Regions from separate parts of the Homo sapiens genome. Here region 2 is linked to region 1. The links are contacts of gene promoters, found by promoter capture Hi-C in blood cells and fetal thymus (Javierre and others, 2016). All regions are on one chromosome and are shown on one strand. Each heading gives the region's core, a stretch centred on a gene start or on the middle of the fragment in contact. The rest is flanking DNA. Distances are from core to core; before and after follow the strand shown. Region 1 holds the start of PCDHB12 (protocadherin beta 12). Region 2 overlaps PCDHA1 (protocadherin alpha 1).

Evidence for each region. Contacts are between HindIII fragments. The CHiCAGO score rates a contact against its expected background, and 5 or more counts as called.
Region 2: a fragment that was not itself captured here is called in contact with the fragment with the promoter of PCDHB12 in region 1 in 1 of 17 cell types (M2 macrophages); the score reaches 5.0 in M2 macrophages.

The regions. Positions count from the first base shown.
Region 1 is chr5:141,203,995-141,210,256 of GRCh38, forward strand. PCDHB12 (protocadherin beta 12) reads left to right here and starts at 4,725. Exons shown (of 1, transcript NM_018932.4): 1 at 4,725-6,262. The coding sequence starts at 4,914. It also overlaps PCDHB@. RefSeq lists an enhancer at 6,157-6,262. The HindIII fragment of the contact is 7,272 bases long and covers 3,709-6,262 here.
Region 2 is chr5:140,958,799-140,965,419 of GRCh38, forward strand. All of the region lies in intron 1 of PCDHA1 (protocadherin alpha 1), which reads left to right. The region is part of intron 1 of PCDHA2 (protocadherin alpha 2); the gene reads left to right. The region is part of intron 1 of PCDHA3 (protocadherin alpha 3); the gene reads left to right. The region is part of intron 1 of PCDHA4 (protocadherin alpha 4); the gene reads left to right. It also overlaps PCDHA5, PCDHA6, PCDHA7, PCDHA8, PCDHA9 and PCDHA10, and 5 more genes. Among named protein-coding and RNA genes, the nearest start is that of PCDHAC2, 4.4 kb to the right of the region's middle. The HindIII fragment of the contact is 1,841 bases long and covers 2,972-4,812 here.

The DNA.
Region 1 (6,262 bases), core at 3,475-5,974:
TGAGGTTGGGAGTTCAAGACCAGCCTGGCCAACACAGTGAAACCCCATCTACACTAAAAAATACAAGAAGTAGCTGGGTGTGGTGGTGCGTGCCTATAATCCCAGCTACTCAGGAGGCTGAGACAGGAGAATCACTTGAACCCAGGAGGCAGAGGTTGCAGTGAGCCAAGATCTTGCCACTGCACTCCAGCCTGGGTGACAGAGCGATACTCCGTCTCAAAAAAAAAAAAAAAAAAAAAAAAAAGAAAGAAAGAAAAGAAAAGAACAGAACAATATTTTCTTTAATTTCCAGTCTCCTTCTATTGAGTGGCTTCTTCTAGAATTACCTCAATACTTCTAAATGATATGTTTTTGCTGTTAAATCTTGCTACTCCATTTTACATTTTAATCACTTCTTGCTATGTATTTTTTAAAAAAGATTTAACTTTCTTTTCAACTAATGTAAACCAATATAAGCACTGCACATTCCCTTTCTCCTATTCTCCCAATAAAATTGTTACAGTTTTTTTTTTCTTTTTGACAGAGTCTTACTCTGTCGCCCAGGTTGGAGTACAGTGGTGTGATCTCAGCTCACTGTAACCTCTGCTTCCCAGGTTCAAGTGATTCTCCTGCCTCAGCCTCCTGAATAGCTGGGATTACAGGCACCCACCACCACACCTGGCTAGTTTTGTAGCTTTAGTAGAGATGGGGTTTCACCATGTTGGCCAGGCTTGTCTTGAACTCCTGACCCCAGCTGATCCTCCTGCCTCAGCCTCCCAAAGTGTTGAGATTACAGGCGTGAGCCACAGTGCCCAGCCTACAGTTTTTTTTAAGTTAAACTAATAGTGTCCATATTGCTAAGCTTTCTTCAAAATACACATTAGTGTAGTGTGATTAAATTTCCTTTCTTGAGAAACATTTTTCCTAGAACTGAAAATTGTTTTGTACTTACATAATTTTCCATTTACTAATATTAGTTTCTTTACATTCTCTAATTTGAATCTCTTTCTTCTCAAAATATTCAAATATATCAGATACCTGTCAATTATGTTTATTTCTTGGTGATCTTGCACCCAGATCTCTACTTCATTCATACTGGTTGCTCTATAGGCTGTCACCCTAGGACTTTAAAAAATATTTTTCTTTGTTGGTCCTTTTTTATAAGATCCAGTACATTCTTCTTTCTTAGTTTACTCACTTATTTTGTTGATGCACATCTCTCAGTACCTTCATAAAAATGGATACAGAGGAAATAAAACTTTTTGAGAGCTTGCTTTGTTATTTTCTTTTTTTTTATTTGATTGATAGTTTGGGCATAACATTCTAGGTTGAAAATAATTTTCCCTCAGATTTCAAAAGCACTGCTCCTTTTATTGACTGCATATAGAATTGCTGTTCAGAAGACTGATTCCATTCTGATTCCTATGTCTTTTTATGTGATTCCCCCCCTTTTTTTCTTTCTTTCTGTGAGCATTGAAAAAAATTCCCCTGGTCTTCTGAAAATACCTTAGTACTGGCTCTTTATTGATTAATCTGGTTATATCGCTATGCCCTGTTCATGTTTAACTTTTCTTTTTTTTTTAAGATGATGTCTCACTGTGTTACCCAGGCTGGAGTGCAGTGGCTATTCACAGGCACAATCACAGCACCCTGCAAGCTCTAACTCGAGAGCTACTTCTGCCTCAGCCTTCCAAGTTGCTGGGACTACAGGCATGTGCTAGACCCCTTGGCTAATGTTCAGACTATCAATTTTATTTCTGAGAAATTTTGGTTGGGCATGGTGACTCACACCTGCAATCCCAGTACTTTGGGAAGCTGAGGCAGGATTATTTGAGGCCCCGAGTTTGAGACCACCCTGGGCAACATAGTGGGAACCTATCTCTACACAAAAACAATTTGTTAAAAGGAATTTCCTTGGTATGTTTTACTCATAATTTCTCCTCTGAGTTTTCTGGATTCTCACTTCAATGAAAATCTCAGTTAAATATTAGACCTCCTAGATTGACTCTATAAGACTATAAGCCATTTTTCCTTTCTTATTTTCTCTTTGCCTCTCATTCCATTTTTTGGACAATTTATTTAATCACTCAATGTTTTATGTATAAGTTTTTCTTTATGACTGAAAAATATTTACTTTTAAGAGTTGTTTTTGGTTCTCTGAATGTTTTTCATGGCATCCTGTCATAGATTTATAAATGTAATATTTTCTCTCATTTATAATTAATCTTTTCTTTAAAAATGCATTAGGCAGTATCATTATTATATATCCATTTTAAAAGTGAAAGTGAGTCTAAGGGGAGTTAAGAACTTGTCCAAGGTAATATAGCTAGTAAAAAGCACTGAAGTCCTAATCTAGTCTTCATCTTACAATAGGAATATGTACTTCATATAGTTACTATTTAGATTAAGTGGATAAATACATACTTCATACAGCTACTATTTAGATTAAATGGATAAATGCATTATGAGGCACTTAGAACAATGAGTAGCATAGAGTAAATACTAAATAAGTATTAGCTTTTATTAGATTTTCTTTCTCTGGGAATATTAACCAGACATTTTCAAAGGCTTTCTTCTGCTTTCTATATTATTGTTCCTTTTTTTTTTCTTGATGGTAGCGATGGTGGTAGTTTTGGTCTTTCTATGTTATGTTGCAGGCATTTCCTCAAATGCCTTGGCTATCTTCTCGTATTTTAGAAGGATGATATATCAAAATGCTGACAATCAACTCTGTGAGCGAACAGTACCTGTTGATGGCAGGGCTTCATTCTAATATAACCATGCTAGGATAAGTCTATTACCTTATGAGATGCCAAATATTAATATGTGTCTTCATTTGGGCTTTCATATTCTCCAGGTTAGAATTCTACAATATACACTATGGGGATAGACTAGGGGTCAGGCATACACTTTGTGTCCTACAGTCTAAGAGTATTGCATGAAAAGGGATTAGAAGTCTCACCATGCAAAATGCAAAGGTTTGCTTACTCTCCCTATTTTCAGTTTGACACCTCACACTTGTGCTCAGCTGTGCCTAGATCCCCAAGACTAGAGAAAGTCCCATTAAATTTCTCCAGAGAATAAACTTTCTATTTTCTGGCTGTGAGTTATGTTTCCATCTATGTAGGGTGATGAGAAGAACAGAGAATTCAATTATCCTCTACACATACTTCCAACTAATAACTTTTTTCCATCCTTAACTGACTTCAGTCTTCTTAAACATCTGGTTCCTCCAGATCTTGCGCTTAAAAGAGATTATGTTTCTTGTGAGTATCTTCAATGCAGGAACTTTACTTTAGGGGCACTTTTTGGAACTGCTAAGTTAATTGCTCTTCCACCTGCTTTCTGTCATAGAAAAATGTATGTGTTCACTTGTGTATTCTTAATCTTTGTTAGTTCCTACCATTTTAATTACTTTTCTGCCATTTTAGTGCATATTTTTTTTTAAAAAGAGAGGTTAATTGTGTGTGCTCAATTCATCTACTTTTCAAGTTTTACCCTTCTGTACCAATTACTATTTCAACCATGTATCCAGCTTACATTTTTAAGAATATTAATTGAATTTAACATTTTAAAATGCAGACTTGTTGGATTCTTCTCCCATCCATTCTTAGTGCACTTTAAGACTTTCTATAGTGAATATCACTGATGAGCCCTTAGCATCTGTTGCAAACAGTCTCCCTCATTTTGTACCAATGAGGTACTTTGGCTAGGACTGAAACCTTCCCAAGCTTAAGAGGTGGTCCCAGACAGGATTAAAACACAGTAATGGCCAGAGACAGGTCTTTAGATTCTAGGACTAAAATCTCCAACTATAATTCTATACCTCTTGAAACAATGATTGCTTCAGTGGCAGACACATGATCTTACTTGGTCTAATTAGAGTGAAAGTTAGGTTTTTGTTCTATGTTTAGGGATAGACTCTTACTTTCTCTTCCTGGGCTGAAAGAGAAAACAGATAGCTACAGTTGTGGCTACAATAAATTTTGGGAACCTAAGGCAAGTCAGCTTTAGGAATAAGAGTCTGCTTTAAATTAAACTAACTTGCTCATGCTTGTGTACTTATGAATTTTTTTGTAAATTATGAAAAACTGGAACTAAATGATGGGTTTACATAACATGTTCCACCCCAATCTCTTGCTTCATTTTCTGCCTGTTCACAATTCATTGCTATTAAGGAAATCTACAGAAGTGCCTTTTTATGCTGTTGTGTTGACCTATATATGCCTCATCTCATGGTTAATCCAGTTTCATAACTTCAGAAAGGATTTCTGAGATGACCTTTCCTTTACCTTATCACGTAAGGAAAGCCAAGTAGTAATAGAATTTCATTCAGCTTAACAATCACTTATACCCTGCTTGTTTCAGGCTTACAATTGTCTCAGAAACACTATGAATTCCTGGGAGCCAGGGATCACATCTTGTATCTGTGTTTACCACAACTGAACACATTTGGTTGTGAGAAGAGTGGGGAAAGACACTGAATAAATGCTTTAAAACAAAATCATCATCACAAACTATAAAGAATATAAAACGATTATTATGGAAGATAAAATATATTTTTAATTACTTCAACAGAAGGAATTATTTAAACGCAATATTTATTTGCTTCTGGAGGACATTTATGTAAATAAAATTTAGGTAGTGTTCATCAAACTGTGAAAATCTGTGGAGACGCGTGGTGGCGCTGCAGGATAATATCAAGAAAAAAATTACCCTGGAGGATGTTGTAGACCCTGTTATCCAGTACACGCGGAGAACTGGGAAGACAGAAAGAACAATCCTTTAAGGGAGAACCTAGAAGCCATTCAACAAGGTTAAAATCTTCAGGCTTCCGAGGATTTGGTAGACAGATCAGAGGCACGTTTCCCACAACTGCGAAGAGGCGCTGAGGCAATTCTGCAAGAAGATTTTGGGGTTTTGGAAAAGAAGCTATGGAAAACGGAGGGGCAGGCACTCTGCAGATAAGGCAAGTCCTGCTTTTCTTTGTTTTGCTGGGAATGTCTCAGGCGGGCTCTGAAACTGGGAACTTTTTGGTGATGGAGGAATTGCAGAGCGGGAGCTTTGTAGGAAATTTGGCAAAGACCCTGGGACTCGAGGTGAGTGAGCTGTCTTCGCGGGGGGCTCGGGTGGTTTCTAATGATAACAAAGAGTGTTTGCAGCTGGACACAAACACTGGGGATTTGCTCCTGAGAGAAATGCTAGACAGGGAGGAGCTCTGTGGCTCCAATGAGCCTTGTGTGCTGTATTTCCAAGTGTTAATGAAAAACCCCACGCAGTTTTTACAAATTGAGCTCCAGGTCAGGGATATAAATGATCACTCTCCCGTCTTCTTGGAAAAAGAAATGCTCTTAGAAATCCCAGAGAACAGTCCTGTTGGTGCTGTGTTCTTGCTTGAAAGTGCAAAGGATTTAGATGTAGGAATCAATGCTGTAAAAAGCTACACAATAAATCCGAACTCTCATTTCCACGTTAAAATAAGAGTCAATCCAGACAATAGGAAATACCCTGAGTTAGTTCTGGACAAGGCGCTGGATTATGAAGAGCGCCCGGAGCTCAGTTTCATCCTCACTGCTCTGGATGGCGGGTCCCCTCCCAGGTCTGGAACTGCCTTGGTCAGGGTGGTGGTTGTAGATATTAATGACAACTCCCCTGAGTTTGAGCAGGCTTTTTATGAGGTGAAGATTCTGGAGAATAGCATCCTTGGCTCCCTGGTTGTGACCGTCTCAGCCTGGGATTTAGACTCTGGAACAAACAGTGAACTATCCTATACCTTTTCCCATGCCTCAGAAGATATTCGCAAGACATTTGAAATTAATCAAAAGTCTGGTGACATTACTTTAACAGCACCTTTGGATTTTGAAGCAATTGAGTCATACTCAATAATCATTCAAGCCACAGATGGGGGAGGACTTTTTGGAAAATCTACAGTCAGAATTCAGGTGATGGATGTAAACGACAACGCTCCTGAAATCACTGTGTCATCAATTACCAGTCCAATCCCAGAAAACACTCCAGAGACTGTGGTTATGGTTTTCAGGATACGAGACAGAGACTCTGGGGACAACGGAAAGATGGTTTGTTCTATCCCGGAGGACATCCCATTCGTGCTAAAATCTTCGGTAAATAATTACTACACTTTGGAAACAGAGAGACCGCTGGACAGAGAGAGCAGAGCCGAGTACAACATCACCATCACCGTCACCGACTTGGGGACCCCCAGGCTAAAAACCGAGCACAACATAACCGTGCTGGTCTCCGACGTCAATGACAACGCCCCCGC
Region 2 (6,621 bases), core at 2,642-5,141, 250 kb before region 1:
CACACCATTCTGTTTTAATTTTTATATCTTAAAGTTATCATTCCAGTGTCTTTGGTTTACTGGGTTTATAAAAGAATTGACCAGTAGCTATATAATAGATACAGAAAAGTCTGCCTGGGTGTGGTGGCTCATACTTGTAATAATATTATATTATTATAATTGTTCTATTTTATTATTAGTTATTGTTGCTAATCTTTTACTGTACCTAATTTATACATTAAGCTTTATCATGGGTATGTATGTATAGGAAAAAATGCAGTATATATAGAATTCAGTATTATCCTTGGTTTCGGACATTCAGCAGGGGTCCGAAGGTGGGCGAGGTGAGCCCACTTTGGGAGGCCAAAGTGGGCAGATTGCTTGACCCCAGGAGTTCAGGACCAGTCTGGGCAACATGGTGAAATGCTGTCCTTACAAAAAATACAAAAATTATCTGGGCATGATAGTGCATGACTGTAGTCCCAGCTACCCAGGAGCCTGAGGTGGGAGCATCACTGAGCCCGGTGGTTGAAGCTGCAATAAGTTTTGATTATGCTACTGCACTCCAGCGGGACAACTGAGTGAGACCCTGTCTCAAAAAAAAAAGTCACAAATTAAGATAAAGTGTTGATTGATCTGAGAATTTGTGTATTTTTTTCTATTTTGTGCTGAAAAGCTGAAGTTGGCATCAATCAAGGCATATTGTTATATATGGATCAAACTAAAAAATTTTAAGATCTTTAAGACCATTAATTCAGAGATGCTGTATAAATAGAATCAGTACTAGATTTTTTGTTTCAATTCTATCAGCCAAGTATAACATGCTTTTCTTGCTTGTGATAGAAAAAAAGAGAGAAAAAACACAGAAGCAAAATTGAAGAATTTGTAAATCATTTCTAAATAATTTCAATAAAATGAGCTTTGAAAGGGAAAATTTTTAGATAACATTATCTCATCAAAATGCCTTAAAGTATATTTTAATATTCAGTAAGAACAGTGTATATTAACATGGCTAATTTAGAGGATTTATATTTTACCCACATGATAATGTATTATGCCTGTAACTGCTAAAGGAATTATGTAGCAAAATCTGTCAAGGAATACACGAGTGGGATTTATATCAGAAAAATCAAAGCCATTTGTAAAGCCCCATTACTTAGGCAGAATATCATAGGTAGGAGGTAGATGTTACTGAAAGAAGAAGTTGGGATATGAAATACAAATCTATTTTGCATCATGATTTTGTTAAGTCCGGCTGTTTATTATTAAAAACATGTACAGAAGATTCAATTGAAGTTTCTAAAAGAGAAAGAAACTTGTAGTTGTGGGAACAATAGTATTCCTTATGAAATACTTAGATATTAATAGCTTGAGACTGATAATACAATTCTTAAGTTAGGGGTTGCATGTGTAGTGGTCAGATGTTATTTCAGGATCTCAAGAAACAGAGCCATGGTAAAAAGAAGCTTCCTGGAGCTTCTGATAAATTCCGTCACCTTTTTGGGACCCAGTTTCTTCATCAATACCAACCTCATTAGGGTCCTGTGAGAAGTACATGAGGTGAGATATGTACTGAAATAATATGCCAACTCTTAAGTGCCAAGACATTAGGATGCAAGGGGGGGTGCCCAAAAAGTCAACAATTACTTGATACTCTAGATATATGTATGGATAATTTTGAGAAGTAATCCTTCTTACACAGAGGTGTAGGTTTGTTTGTTCCAAGCAGCAAACATAATGGGTATAGGAAAGAGAAACTGTGGCCTTCATATAGACTGAGCTTAGGAAAACAGTTGGAAAACAGTTCAAATTCAAGGTACTTCAACAATATCTAGTGTGTTTTTGAAATATATTTTTAAAACCCCTATCCAAATCAATGAATGCTTTGGCTAAAACCTACTTGGGAATGAGGGTGTTCTTTAGTGCCAAATACTCATCTTATTTTAGTCCATGATTTTAGTCCATGGCTAAAATCCCAAGAGTTACAGAGGAGAAATAGGGCCAAACAAGGTTTCTATTAAAATAAGAGGTCCCAAGTGATGAATGGAAACTTGGAACAGGTTTAATGGCAACTATAAGCCAGAAATTAGCTGAAATACACACTAATGAATTTGGGGCATATCTTGAGTTTCAGATAGAAAATTGGTACTAAGTTTAGTGAATTAGAAACATAGCTTAACCTAGGCAGTTGCAATTCTTGTTCCAAAAATGCTCAATTTGCTGCTGGACTGCATGGACACTTGCTACCTCCTTGTTTTGAGTCATTAACAAAATGTTGAATGGGATATCTGGAGTATCAAGTAATTGTTGACTTTTTGGTCACCCAACCCCCTTGCATCTTAATGTCTTGGCACTTAAGAGTTGGCATATTATTTCAGTACATATCTAACCTTATGTACTCCTCACAGGACCCTAGTGAGGTTGGTATTGATGAAGAAACTGGGTCCCAAAAAGGTGATGGAATTTATCCGAAGCTCCAGGAAGCTTCTTTTTACCATGGCTCTGTTTCTTGAGGTTAAAGAACATGATTTACCAGGCTCTGTTTCTTGAGAGACCAAGAGTGGATCCCTGTAGTCCCCATTAGAATTCTCCTTCTAGTTTGAACTATTCCATTAGTAAACACTTTTTGGCATGTTATTTAAACAATTACAAAATCACCTAACTACACTGTCTTGCAGCTGCCTTTCTTTTTTTGTCTTGTCCACGTGAGTATATTGGGAGACTTTGTTTAATGTCTCCACAAATTCTAGATAGACTGTTCCTGCAGCATTTCTTTTTTTAAATTTTGTTTTGATAAGCATTTATTTTGGCAATGATTCTAGTAAATGAAACTAAAGTGCCCATATGAAAAACAATCTTAAGTCTATGTGGTTAGTTTGAAGTTACCAGTTTTTAATTAAGCCGGAGTAGTCCTTAGTATGAATGCCTTCATTTCTAAGTGCTCATAAACAATCACTTTAGTAATATTACAGTTTTGAAGGAATTTATATCAAGCTTAATGGCACTTTTTAAAAGATAGGAAATTGGGTTCTCTAGTCACATCTGTAAGTTATTTCAGTGCCTTGGAAGATCATTTATCTGGCCACAGATAATTGACTTACTTACATCAGTTTTTTTTTTTTTTGAGATGGAGTCTCGCTCTGTTGCCCAGGCTGGAGTGCAGTGGCATGATCTCGGCTCACTGCAACCTCCGCCTCCTGGGTTCACGCCATTGTCCTGCCTCAGCTTCCCGAGTAGCTGGGACTACAGGCACCCACCACCATGCCTGGCTAATTTTTTTGTATTTTTTAGTAGAGACGGGGTTTCACCATGTTAGCCAGGATGGTCTCGATCTCCTAACCTTGGCCTCGGCCTCCCAAAGTGCTGGGATTACAGGCGTGAGCCACCACACCCGGCCACTTATATCACTTTTATGCTTCCTATCTCCTTATTGATCTTGAGGTTCAAGTTTCACTTAACCATTTTCTTCAATGAAAAATAATTTTATAATTTAAAAAACCTCAACCTTTAATATTCTATGATTCTTGTTAGGCCATCTCAATTGAGAATACTGATAAAGAAGTAAAACTCCCCCCAATACTGGCTAGTTTGATTTTATCTGTTAATATTACGCAATCTGCCCCAAACCTGTCTCTCCCTTTTTATTGTTACTTATCCAAAGATGGCTTGAATCTCTTATGGCTTGAATCTCTTTGTTTATTCTAAGCAATTTTCAGACACCTCAGCCAACTATCAATAATATATTAGTTTTTTAGAACTAAAAATGTAGAGGATCTCCCCCTAAAAGCCAATTGTTAATGCCAAATATTTGACTGATATATTTCTTCTGGAGGAAGGGAGATGTGAAAAAATTTAGCCATCAAGTTATGTGAAAACTTTTTCATCTTCCCATCCACTGGATGTTTTATCTGTAAATAATGCTATAATCATATTGGAAAGTATTTTCCTTCTGGGGATGCATGAAGATCAGGAATCCTATTCGTTTTTAACAAGATGGAATTTTTAAAAACTACTTTGGACAACTCTAAACATCAGAGATGACCATTTGTCTCTTTTTTATTATATAACTTGTGCTCGGTTTGTAGAGCAACATAAATACATGAATTAAAAAATGAAAACTAGCTCCTTCCCTATTTGACAGATACTTCTCAACCTCCTCTCCATAAGATATGCTCTATCCCTATATAGGAAATTTTTCTGTAGCAGCTTGAGTTTACTAAAAATAAGATCTGAAGAAAATGAAGCAATTAACATTTATTGAGAGTCTATAAGGGTTTCTACATTGTGAAGGAGACAGAAATATAAGACATGGCTCCTGCTTTCAGGTTGCTTATAATTAAAGAGATAATATTAAATTATTTGGATGAATTTAAAAATGACACATGCCATCTTACAGATATGCTGTAGACTGTGAAAATGAAAAAAAAAACCTCGTGTTTAGAGTAGACACTGTTTGATGGATTAGGTAGGTTTTCATCTGGACTTTGAAATGTATGTAAGATTTTATAAGGAGGAGAGAAAATAAGAAGCTGTTTGTATTAGAATTACACAGATAAATTTGTAAATTTAGTTCTTTTCAAAGAACATTAATTGAGCACCTCTGTGCCAAGCTCCCTACTGGATGCTGTAGATTACAGCATGTTTAGGAACTAACTTCATACTCTGTTGCTAAAGTATTTCTGTGTTTTCTAAAAAGGTAAATCTCTTGTGAGGAAACAAATCTCTTGAAGGGGTTCTCATAACAGAAGTCCCATTTACTTCATGATATAAAAAGGGGCTGTTTTCTGGTTTTGTTCTCAAAATGTAGGATATAGTTCTAGACGTAATTGGGAAAGCTTAACTTTGTTGCATACGCATCTTCCCTATCATGGTTGATTTCCTATATGGCATAGTTAAATGTGTTTATCCGTGTTTGATATCTAAAGGGCCATGCTACATATAGACTGCCAACTAAGGTTTTATCTGATGATAATAAATTGTTGTATTTCATGACGACAGCAACAACAACAATAATGTACTTAACTAGTCACTGTGCAAATTGCTTTACATACATTTTCTCATGTAATCATAATAATAACCGTATGAGTTTTGCTTACTATTGTTTTCCTTAATTAAAATGAGTAAAGTGAAGCTTAGGCTAAGTAACATGTCCATAGCCAAACAGTTAGTCACTGGCAGGAGTGTGACTGACTCCAAAGTCTATATTCCTAATTACTGTGTTCTACTTTTTAATAGAGAGCTCTTGAAGGTCCAAGGAAAGGAATGCATAATGGTGTGGTCAAGGCATTAGTGTTAATATTTGTAGAAAGGGTAATTAACAACAGTCTGAGCAATCACATTCTAACAACTAGTAAGGTTGGCAGGAGCCTCAGTATAATGGTGTGAGGAACGAAATCATTATAGTGCCAAATAGAGTATACCATCTCTTTAGTACAATGTCTTTCAAAATGAGGCTGATTGTGTTGGCTTTATATTTGACTCCTTAATAATTAAGGCAGTAAATTCTAGCTGGAGCTAAATACCTACAAGGCCTAAAACAGCATAATGGACAACCTGGCAGGTGTCCTTGCTGGAAGATGACAAGAGTGCTGAAAGGAGAGTCCTGGTTTTTCTCCCAAGACATGACATTTGGGGGCTTCCATTAAAAAATTACCAAGCCTCTGCCACTGTAATCTCTTCCTTAAGTGCCTATGATTTTTTCACAGTCACAGGTCTATGCCTGGTCAATACCCAGTGGCCAGGTCTCTGAGCTGCGTGCAGAGATGGCAGCGACTTGGAGGGCTGGGAGGAGATAAGGGGAGGAAAGATCACTTTTCATGACAACTTACAACTTGATTCCACTTATAAGCCATTTATTTTCAGAAACAAGTAATGGGTGAGGACACAGGCCAGGTCCACAATTTGTGCACTTGAGAGATTAAGGCCTCCGAGATCAAATTACCACAGCAAACTGAGACAGAATTATTGTAGGGATGTTTGGGGAGGATGCAGAGAGAAGAGGAAGAAGCCAGAGACCCAAGAAAGGAGACAGGAATAGATTTTGATGAAAATTGCTTCCTACTCTGTACCCTTGAGGAAACAAAGAGGACAAATAAGAAGCAGCAGTGATAGGAGGCTGGGCGCTTCTCTGGAATAACACTGGCTAGGTAGTGGAGCATTGATAGTGAGTGTGCTTGGTTGGTGGAACGAAGGGATGTGCTAGTTCAGGCCTTTGAATTCTGGGTGTCAGGATCACAACCTTGGCTCCTTTAACTGTCCGCTCTAGGAGGGAAGCATGCCAAATGTCAGGTCTCACTCTGACTTTGTTCCAGTCCATAGCTAGAAAATGACCCATAGAGGAAGATCTACAGATGACAGAATACTGGGAGATGAAGAGAAAGGACGTTTTAGTGAGTGCTTTTTTTGCACATGAGGCAATAGATTTCAAATTCCTGTGGAAGAAATGTGAGAACCTGGGAAGAGTGAATATTCAGAACTGAGCAGCAGAGGCAATGACACAGCATGGAAAGATTTCCTCTGATCCTTCTACCTTCTCTTTTACTGAAGTGAATTTGTTGTCTCTGTGTTGCCTCTATAGCAGTACAAGAGGAAACTTGGGGACACAGAAGAACAGAAGTCTAAGGAGTCTTATATTTAAGGAAG